Linked DNA regions of Homo sapiens: regions 1 and 3 are each linked to region 2. Evidence: promoter capture Hi-C in 16 types of primary human blood cells and fetal thymus (Javierre and others, 2016). All regions are on one chromosome and are shown on one strand. The core of a region is centred on a gene start or on the middle of the fragment in contact, and the rest is flanking DNA. Distances in the headings are between cores, read along the strand shown. Region 1 has its middle 110 kb from the start of DIP2C. Region 2 holds the start of LINC00200 (long intergenic non-protein coding RNA 200). Region 3 has its middle 16 kb from the start of DIP2C.

Region 1 (3,245 bases), core at 302-2,801, 360 kb before region 2:
CTGCTTGTGTTATCTATAGATTTCAGACATTGTATGGAAAAGCATCGTGAAAATCCCTGTCCTGTTCTGTTCCATTCTGATTACTGGTGCATGCAGGCCCCAGTCACATACCCACTGCTTGCTCAATCAATCACGACCCTCTCACACAGACCCCTTTAGAACTGTAAGCCCTTAAAAGGGACAGGAATTGCTCACTCAGGGAGCTTGGTTTTTTGAGAATAAGACTGCTGACACTCCCGGCCAAATAAAGCCCTTTCTTTCCTAAACTCGGTGTTTCGAGGGGTTTTGTCTGCAGCTCTTCCTGCTACAAAGGGAGCTCGACAAGATGCAAAACGGAGTTGAAAATTAGCACACAGAAACTTCTAAAGCCACCCAGGAAATGAAGGAAGAAATCTTAACAATAAATCAATCAGAGCTTCTGGAATTGAAACACTCATGGAATTTCAAAATACAATTGAAACTTTACCAATAGACTGGGCCAAACAGAATAAAGAATTTCAGAGCCTGAAGACCAGTCTTTTGAACTAACCCAGACAGACAAAAATATAGAAAAAAAATTTTTAATGAACAAAATCTTCAAGAAACACAGAATTACTTAAAGTGACCAAACCTACACATTATTGGCATTCCTGAGAAGGGAGAAAAAGTAAACAACCTGGAAAATGTAATTGAGGGAATAGCTCAAGAAAATTTCCCTAATCTTGCTAGAGAGGTAGACATCCAGATAGAAGAAATCCAGGGAACATCTCTGATGTGGTTTGGCTCTGTCCCCACCCATATCTCTTCTTGAATGGCAGCTCCCATATCCCCACGTGTTGTGGGAGTGACCTGCTGGGAGATAACTGAATCACGGGGGTGGGTTTTCCCATGCTGTTCTCATGATAGTGAGTAAGTCTCAAGAGATCTGATGGATTTATAAAGGGCAGTTCCCCTGCACAAGCTCACTTGTCTGCCGCCATGTAAAGCGTGCTGTTGCTCCTCCTTTGCCTTCCGGCATGATTGTGAGGCCTCCCCAACCATGTAGAACTCTAAGTCCATTAAACCTCCTTTCCTCTATAAATTAACCAGTCACAGGTATGTCTTAATTAACAGTGTGAGAACAGACTAATACAGTAAATTGGTACCGGAAGTGGGGTGCTGCTGTAAAGAACCCAAATATGTGAAAGCAACTTTGGGACTGGGTAACAAGCAGAGGTTGGAACAGTTTGGAGGGTCCAGAAGAAGATATGAAAATGTGGGAAAGTTTGGAACTTACTAGAGACTTGGAGGGCTCAGAAGAAAGGAAGATGTGGGAAAGTTTGGAACTTCCTAGAGATTTGTTGAATGTCTTTGACCAAAATGCTAATAGTGATATGGACAAGAAAGTCCAGGCTGATGTGGTCTCAGATGGAGATGAGGAACTTGTTGGCAACTGGAGCAAAGGTGACTCTTGCTATGCTTTAGCAAAGACACTGGCAGCATTTTGCCCCTGCCCTAGAGATCTGTGGAACTTTGAACTTGAGAGATGATTTAGAATATCTGGCAGAAGAAAATTCTAAGTGGCAAAGTGTTCAAGAGGAAGCAGAGGATAAAAGTTTGGAAAATTAGCAGCCTGACAATGCAGTAGACAAGGAAAACCCATTTTCTGGAGAGAAATTCAAGCCTGCTGTAGAAATTTGCATAAGTAACACTTGGTTAATCACGAAGACAATGGGGAAAATGTCTCCAGGGAGTATCAGAGACCTTCAAGGCAGCTTAGGAGTTAAAAATGGTTTTGTGGGCTGGACGCAGGGCCCCCCTGCTGTGTACAGCCTAGGGACTTGACGCCCTGTGTCCCAGCTGCTCCAGCCATGGCTAAAAGGGGCCAAGGTACAGCTCAGGCCATGGCTTCAGAGATTGAAAGCCCCAAGGCTTGGCAGCTTCCACATGGTGTTGGTCTTACAGGTGCACAGAAGACAAGAATAAGGTTTGGAAACTTCCACCTAGATTTCAGAGGTTGTATGGAAATGCCTGGATGTTCAGTCACAGGTGTGGCTGCAGGGGCAGAGGGCACCAAGTTCTCAGACTGCACAAAGCAGCAGGACCCTGAGCCCAACCCACGAAACCATTTTTTCCTCCTAGGCCTCCTGGCTTGTGATGTGAGGAGGTGCTATGAAGACCTCTAACATGCCCTGGAGACATTTTGCCCATTGTCTTGACAATTAACATTTGGCCCCTTGTTACTTATACAAATTTCTGCAGCTGGCTTAAATTTTTCATCAGAAAATTAGTTTTTCTCTTCTATTGCATTGTTAGGCTGCAAATTCTCTGAAATTTAGTGCTGTGCTTCCCTTTTAAATACAAGTTCCAATCCCAAACCATATCTTTGTGAAGGAATAAAACCGAATGCTTTTAAGAGCACCAAACATCTTGAACACTTTGCTGCTTAGAAATTTCTTCCACCAGATACCCTAAATCATCTCTCTCAAGTTCAAAGTTCCACAGATCTCTAGGGGACAAAAGGCTGCCAGTCTCTTTGCTAAAGCATAGCAAGAATCAACTTTGTCCAGTTCCCAATAAGTTCCTCATCTTCATCTGAGACTATCTCAGCCTGGACTTTTTGGTGAAAACCATTCAACAAATCTCTAGGAAGTTCCAAACTTTCCCACATCTTCCTGTCTTCTTCTGAGTCCTCCAAACTGTTCCAACCTCTGCCTGTTATCCAGTTCCAAAGTTGCTTCCACATTTTTTTTTTTTTGAGATGGAGTCTCACTTTTTTCACCCAGGCTGGAATGCAGTGGCACGATCTTGACTTACTGCAACCTCGGCCTCCTGGGTTCAAGTGATTCTCCTGCCTCAGCCTCCCAAGCAGCTGGGATTATAGGCACTCGCCACTACGCCTGGCTAATTTTTGTATTTTTAGTAGAGACGGGATTTCGCCATGTTGGCCAGGCTGGTCTCAAATTCCTGACCTAGGTGATGATCATCTGCCTCCCTCGGCCTCCCAAAGTGCTAGGATTACATGCATGGGCCACCATGCCTGGCCTCAGGTATCTTAATAGCAGTACCCCACTCTACTGGTACCAACTTATTATATTAGTCCATTTTCATACTGCTATAAAGAAATACTCAAGAATGGGTAATTTATTTAAAAAAAAAGAGAGAGAGGTTTAATGGACTCACAGTTCCACATGGCTGGAGAGGCCTCACAATCATGGCAGAAGACAAAGGAGGAGCAAAGGCACATCTTACATGGTGGCAGGCAAGAGAGCGTGTGCAGGAGCCCT
Region 2 (3,107 bases), core at 469-2,968:
CCTGGCCTCGAACTGAACTCTGGAGAGAAAGAATCAATGATGACTGCAAAATTTTGAGAGTGGAGAACCGAGGAAGAAGGAATTGAAAAGTAAAAAAGGGAAAAAAAAGATGATTGAGTTCAGTTTTCCAAATGTCAGATTTCCAATCTATGAGGGACGTGGCTAACGTTTCCTCCAACAGTCATCGAAAGCAGGGTCGCCTTTGGCTGGCGCGGCGTGAGGGCCGCACCAGGGCAACAGAGAGTGGCCCGCTCAATGCCACGTGACCTGCACAGCCACAGGGTTCCATTTCCTTCACGTTTTTTTTCCTTTCTTTCCTTCCTTCCTTATCTCCCTCCCTCCCTCCCTCCCTCCCTTTCTCTCTTTTCCTCCCCTTCCTTTCCTTTTCCTTCCTTCCTCTCCTCCCCTCTCTTCTTTTCTTTCTTGGAGTCTCACTCTATTGCCCAGGCTGGAGTGCAATGACACAATCTCCGCTCATTGCAACCTCCACCTCCTGGGGTCAAGCGATTCTCCTACCTCAGCCTCCTGAGTAGCTGGGATCACAGGTGCATGCCACCATGCCCGGCTAATTTTTGTATTTTTAATAGAGATGGGGTTTCACCATGCTGGCCAGGCTGGTCTGGAGCTCCGGACCTCGTGATCCGCCTGCCTCAGCCTCCTAAAGTGCTGTGATTACAGGTGTGAGCCACCGCGCCCAGCCTCCTTCACTTTTTTTCAAAAGCGAGAGCACCCTCATGTACACTGGGAGCTCACTTGAGCACCTTGGTGCTTCACCAGTGAAGGAGGGCTTGGGAGCCGCTTTGACCGTCATTAAAATAGCATTTCAATGATAATACATCAAAAATGTAGTAATATGAAAACTGAAAAACTCCAGTGATGTTTCAAAGCAATGCAGTTTAAAAAAACCAATTCAATCCATTAACCAAAATAAACTTGGGGGAAACAACGCATTTTCTATGCTGGCAAGCAGATGGCCAAGACTGCGTCTGTCTGGGGTGAAAATGCAGGTTGCATCCTGTAGGAAGCCAGCATAGGGACGGGCTGCTCACCTCCCAGGGCGGCAAGGCAGCCGCTGACTCCAGCAGGCCTTGAAACCTCCCCTGCAGACGTAAGAGCATCGTCTCAGGCAGCGCGGCCGCCAAGGTCTCACTGTATCATTCCAAAGCGGGCGAATTTCGAAACATCCAGCTGCTGGCAGCAATAGCAGAACCCACCATGAGGCTCCAGGCATTCGGATGCCGCCAGCGAGGCCAGCAAGCCCACCTCTCCCTGAGCTGCAGTTCGGCTTTCTTCCTCCACAAGCAGGGACGTGGCTTCAGGAACCCGCTGGAGGAGACAAGGGGCCTCCGTGGTCTCAGCCCTCGCTTTGCGCATGGGCTCTGGCCTCGGCACCTGGGCATCTCCATCCTCCCGAGGGCAGTCGGAGGCTGAATGTCTTCAACAGGAGCACAGGCAGGAGAGAGAGAGCTCAGATGTGCTCGAGGCCGGGGTCCACCCCTGTTCTCCTGTGAGAGGGAGGCTGTGAAAATCCAGGAGACAACATCAAAGCGTTGTTTTCCAACACACTGGCCTGCGCGCCCTACGCTTTATGCAGATGAGGGATGGCGCAAGCACAGGCCTGCGCGCAGGGCTTTAGGCAGATGAGGGATGACGCAGGCACAGGCCTGAGCGTCGCACGCTTTGCGTAGATGAGGGATGGCGCCGGCGCAGGCCTGAGCGTCGCACGCTTTGCGTAGATGAGGGATGACGCAGGCACAGGCCTGAGCGTCGCACGCTTTGCGTAGATGAGGGATGGCGCCGGCGCAGGCCTGCGCGCCACGCGCTTTAGGTGGATGAGGGATGGCGCAGGTGCAGGCCTGCGCGCCTCACGCTTTATGTACATGAGGGATGAGGCAGCACAGGAATTGGCACAACCTGAAGTCAGCTCTGCAGCTTTCCAAGGTATGAATGCCCGGGGAGCCAGCGCAGACCCCAGCACACCCCCTGGGCCCAGTGTCCCTGGAAAAGGACATTTCAGCTGAGCTAGGAAGGCTGAGAACAGTTTCCAAAGATACCTGTGATTCAGGTCTCCATTTGTGTCCCAAATGAAAGCGAGTGAAATGAAATATATATATATATAGTTTTTGAGGTTTTGACAGACCCTAAGTCATAGTAGTTTAAAGTAGACAAAAACTATTTTCCTCCCCAATGTGAAACTGTTTTAATTAGTGAGGATTAGTTTCAATGGTGAATGATAGAAAACCCCAAATAATAGAGGCCAAAACCCTTGCCATTTGGAGTGTCGTCAGCATTTCAGCAGGAGATGATGTAAGTCACAAGCCCGGGCTCTCTGGTCAGAGCTTGCATTTTGACAAGATCTGCAGGTGACTTATAGGCATGCTAAGCTTTGAAATAAAAGGGGGGTTTACTTCTCTCTCATATTTAAGTCTGGAAATGATCTCCCAACACTCAGTATTTGCCCCAGGAAGTCAGCAAGCCAGGATTTTTTTTTTTCATTTTCCAGCTTCGTTCTGCGTGTCCTGTACTCAACAGTCATCTCATGCTGCAGGGTGGCTGCGTGTGCTCCGTACATCACACCCATATTTCAGGTAGGGACGGTTCCCGGAGGGTGCTCAGCACCATGCCGACTACTGCTGGCTGGCACGTTCGCACGTGGCCATGTCAGCTCCAAGGAGGATGCTGACATCCTGCTGGCTGGCACGTTCGCACGTGTCCATGTTAGCTGCGAGGGCCATGCCGACATCCTGCTGGCTGGCACTTCCACAGGTAGCCATGTTAGCTGAGAGGGCGATGCCAACATCTTGCTGGCTGGCACGTTTGCACGCGGCCATGTTAGCTGCGAGGACAATGCTTCTGCAACTTTTGGTTTCTTCCCTTTCATCCTCCCACCCCTGACCGTTTTTGCCTGGGAGCAAGTGCCTAATAAATTACCTGCACTCAAATCTTTGGCTCAGAGACTTTCCGAGAGAACCCAAGCTGAGGCAGACAATGAAATCAACACTACCAGCCACTTAGCTGCCAGCTGGGTGGAGAGTGGGCTGCTCTTCCAAGACGCTTTTCAGCCTCTGAAGGCTCATTTCCAGAAGGTCCTGTCTATCTGGGCTACT
Region 3 (2,956 bases), core at 91-2,590, 450 kb before region 2:
CATGGTCGAGATGCCCAACCAGATGACACTCCCAACACACACTTTTCAAAGCCTAAAATGCCTCGTCTCCTGTGCTGCCCATGCTGTAGTTGTTTCCAGTGGACAAGTCTGTGTCATGGCTGGCAGTAGAAGTCTGTGAAAAATATTTTCATGTGCATATAATGTAAACACAAGTCCAGATTGGAGGAAAAGGATAAGTATTTCTGGAGGGATGTCTCCAACAAAAATAATGAAACTGATAGAATTGGCATATTGAGAGGAGATGGAGGTTGAATTATTTTGGGGATAAATGATATTTACATAGTCATAATAATGTAAATTCTGAGAATTGACATAAACAAAAACCAAAATATTTAGGGAGGAACAGGATAGGAAATGTTTGTGTGTGAGCATAGAGAGCAAGAGGAAAATTAGAAAGCCAAGTCCGACTGGGCCAGGCGAGGTGGCTCATACCTGTAATCCCAGCACTTTGGAAGGCTGAGGTGGATGGATCACTTGAGCTCAGGAGTTCAATACCAGCCTGGGCAACATAGTGAGACCCCGTTTCAAAAAAAAAAAAAAAAGACAGCCAAGTCCTCATCTGGGGGATGTAGACTGTCAATAAGTAGTATCTAAAATTTAAAAATAAAGACCTAGCACTATGAGCTTACTATTTAGAAATACGAAGTGAAGCCAGGTGCGGTGGCTCACGCCTGTAATCCCAGCACTTTGGGAAGCCAAGGCAGGTGGATCACGAGGTCAGGAGATCAAGACCATCCTGGCTAACACGGTGAAACCCCGCCTCTACTAAAAATACAAAAAATTAGCCAGGCATGGTGGTGGGTGCCTGTAGTTCCAGCTACTTGGGGGGCTGAGGCAGGAGAATGGTGTGAACCTGGGAGGCAGAGCTTGCAGTGAGCGGAGATCGCACCACTGCACTCCAGCCCAGGCGACAGAGTGAGACTCTGTCTCAAAAAAAAAAAAAAAAAAAGAAAAGAAAAAGAAAAAAGAAATGTGAAGTGAACACCAAAGGAAACATCAGAAAAGCACAGTGTACTTGCCCGTAGGAAATGGAATCAGTCTGGAAATTGCTTCATTGGAAGTCTAATTATGCAGGTACACAATTTTTATGGGGAAAAATAACATATGCAGAGATGTGCATAAATACTTTGATATTTAACAAATAAGTAGAAATCCAACTAATTCTCAACCAGGTTCTAAAATTGATTTTCATTTCTTTTGCAAAATATATAGAAATGTGAATAAATGTTACAGGTAGCACTTAAATGATTGAAAATCCAACTAACCATGAGCCAAGTCAAGACATTGAACATGATTGTCATCCTAAAAGTCCTTCATGCATCACTTCCTGACTGCAATTCCCTCATTCCTACCAAGACAGACCATTCTCCTGACTTGCACAGTGATACTTTTCTTTACCACCATTGCATGCATCCCTGTAAAATATGGTTTAATTTTGCTTACTTTTGAACTTTGTATAATGTTGATATATTTTTTTCCACTCTCCTTTAGGTTGGTAGATTCATCCATGCTGTTTCACGTAGCCTACCTTTTTTTCCTCTAACTAAATATTTTTTGAATGAATATATTAGAGTGTATTGATTCATTCTATCATTCTACTGTTGATGGACATTTGGGCTGTTTCCAGATTTGGCTATTATAGGACAAATATACTATAATTTCATAAGTAGTATAATATATGTGGTTACATACTATCATATATATGATACGCTGGTGAACATAAATGCACTTTTCCCCCAGAACTCTGAATTGCTTTCTATGCCAGAAGTTGCCAAGCATTTATGAGCTCTCTATTCTGTTCCACGTATCTATCTTTTCATTCCTGAACCAATACTACATGGTATTAATGCAGCCAATAACATCCACAAAACTGATAGCAGAAGATCTCTTGTGCCTTCCTTCCCCACCTCCCTTCTTCTCCTTCTCCAATGCCTTGGCTCTTCCTGTGCCTGGAATTTTTGCATATTTTGAATTACCTTGTCATGTGTACCTCCCTCACCCCAAATACCTCCTGGGATCTGAGTGGGATTGAACTGAATCTAGAAATCAACTGAAAGATTAACCACCTCTCTGCATTTTGATTCTCCACAACACGGCACATCTCTGCATTTGTTTAGGTTTTCAGCAATGTCTTTCAGTCTTTCAGTAAAGTTTTATAATTTTTCTCATAAAAGTTTTTCACACTATTCTTTTTTATCTATTATAATTGCTATTGGTGATGCTATTGGTGATTTTTAAATGGTATATTTTTAAATGACATTTTCTATTTGTTGCTTTTATATAGAATACAATTGAATTTTTATACTGATATTGTTTTTGGTAACCCCCCATAAACGTTCTTACTAATTCCAATAGTTTATCTGTAAAATATTTTTTAATGTACTACAGATAAAATTGTTTTATCTACAAAAAATGGTGGCTTAGTTTTTTCCTTTCCTCAGCATTGCCCAGGTGAGGCCTCTCTGCAGCGGTTCACCCCTGAATTTCTGCTTGCCATTGCCCCAGTACAGGCTCTCTGCGGTGGCTCTGCTCCTGTGACAAGTCCCTGCCTGGGGCCGCAGGCTGTCCATGACATCTCTTGAAATCTAGGTGGAGGCTGCCCCACAGCTCTAGCATTCTTCTTGCCTAAAAATTGGCACCACATGGATGCCACCAAGGTTTATAGCTTGTACTTTCCAGAGCCATGGCTGCAGCCACAGCTGCGGTGACTGAGCACTGCACTGGTTGTGGGTTCCCTGGAGCTCCCGGTCAGTGATGGGGGCAGCCTTGAAGATCTTGGAGGTGCCTTCAGGGTCATTCTCCCTGTCCTGATGATTCCTTCTCTCCCCAGTCATCTCCTCAGTGAACAGTCACTTGGCCACACCCTTGGTTTGCTCTCCCAAACTCACCTTTTTATTCTTTACATGGTCAGGCTGAAAAACTTCAAAATCCTTCC

The links. The method cuts DNA at HindIII sites, captures the fragments that hold promoters and counts their contacts. A CHiCAGO score of 5 or more calls a contact.
Region 1: a fragment that was not itself captured here is called in contact with the fragment with the promoter of LINC00200 in region 2 in 1 of 17 cell types (monocytes); the score reaches 5.5 in monocytes.
Region 3: a fragment that was not itself captured here is called in contact with the fragment with the promoter of LINC00200 in region 2 in 1 of 17 cell types (neutrophils); the score reaches 6.5 in neutrophils.

What each region holds. Positions count from the first base shown.
Region 1 is chr10:795,291-798,535 of GRCh38, forward strand. No RefSeq gene overlaps it. Among named protein-coding and RNA genes, the nearest start is that of DIP2C, 110 kb to the left of the region's middle. The HindIII fragment of the contact is 4,290 bases long and covers 1-3,245 here.
Region 2 is chr10:1,158,050-1,161,156 of GRCh38, forward strand. It overlaps LINC00200 (long intergenic non-protein coding RNA 200), which reads left to right and starts at 1,719. Exons shown (of 3, transcript NR_015376.2): 1 at 1,719-1,941; 2 at 2,504-2,588. It overlaps LOC105376344 (a long non-coding RNA gene), which reads right to left and starts at 1,713. Exons shown (of 3, transcript XR_930535.3): 1 at 1,215-1,713; 2 at 1-19. The HindIII fragment of the contact is 5,498 bases long and covers 1-2,382 here.
Region 3 is chr10:704,358-707,313 of GRCh38, forward strand. No RefSeq gene overlaps it. Among named protein-coding and RNA genes, the nearest start is that of DIP2C, 16 kb to the left of the region's middle. The HindIII fragment of the contact is 7,827 bases long and covers 1-2,956 here.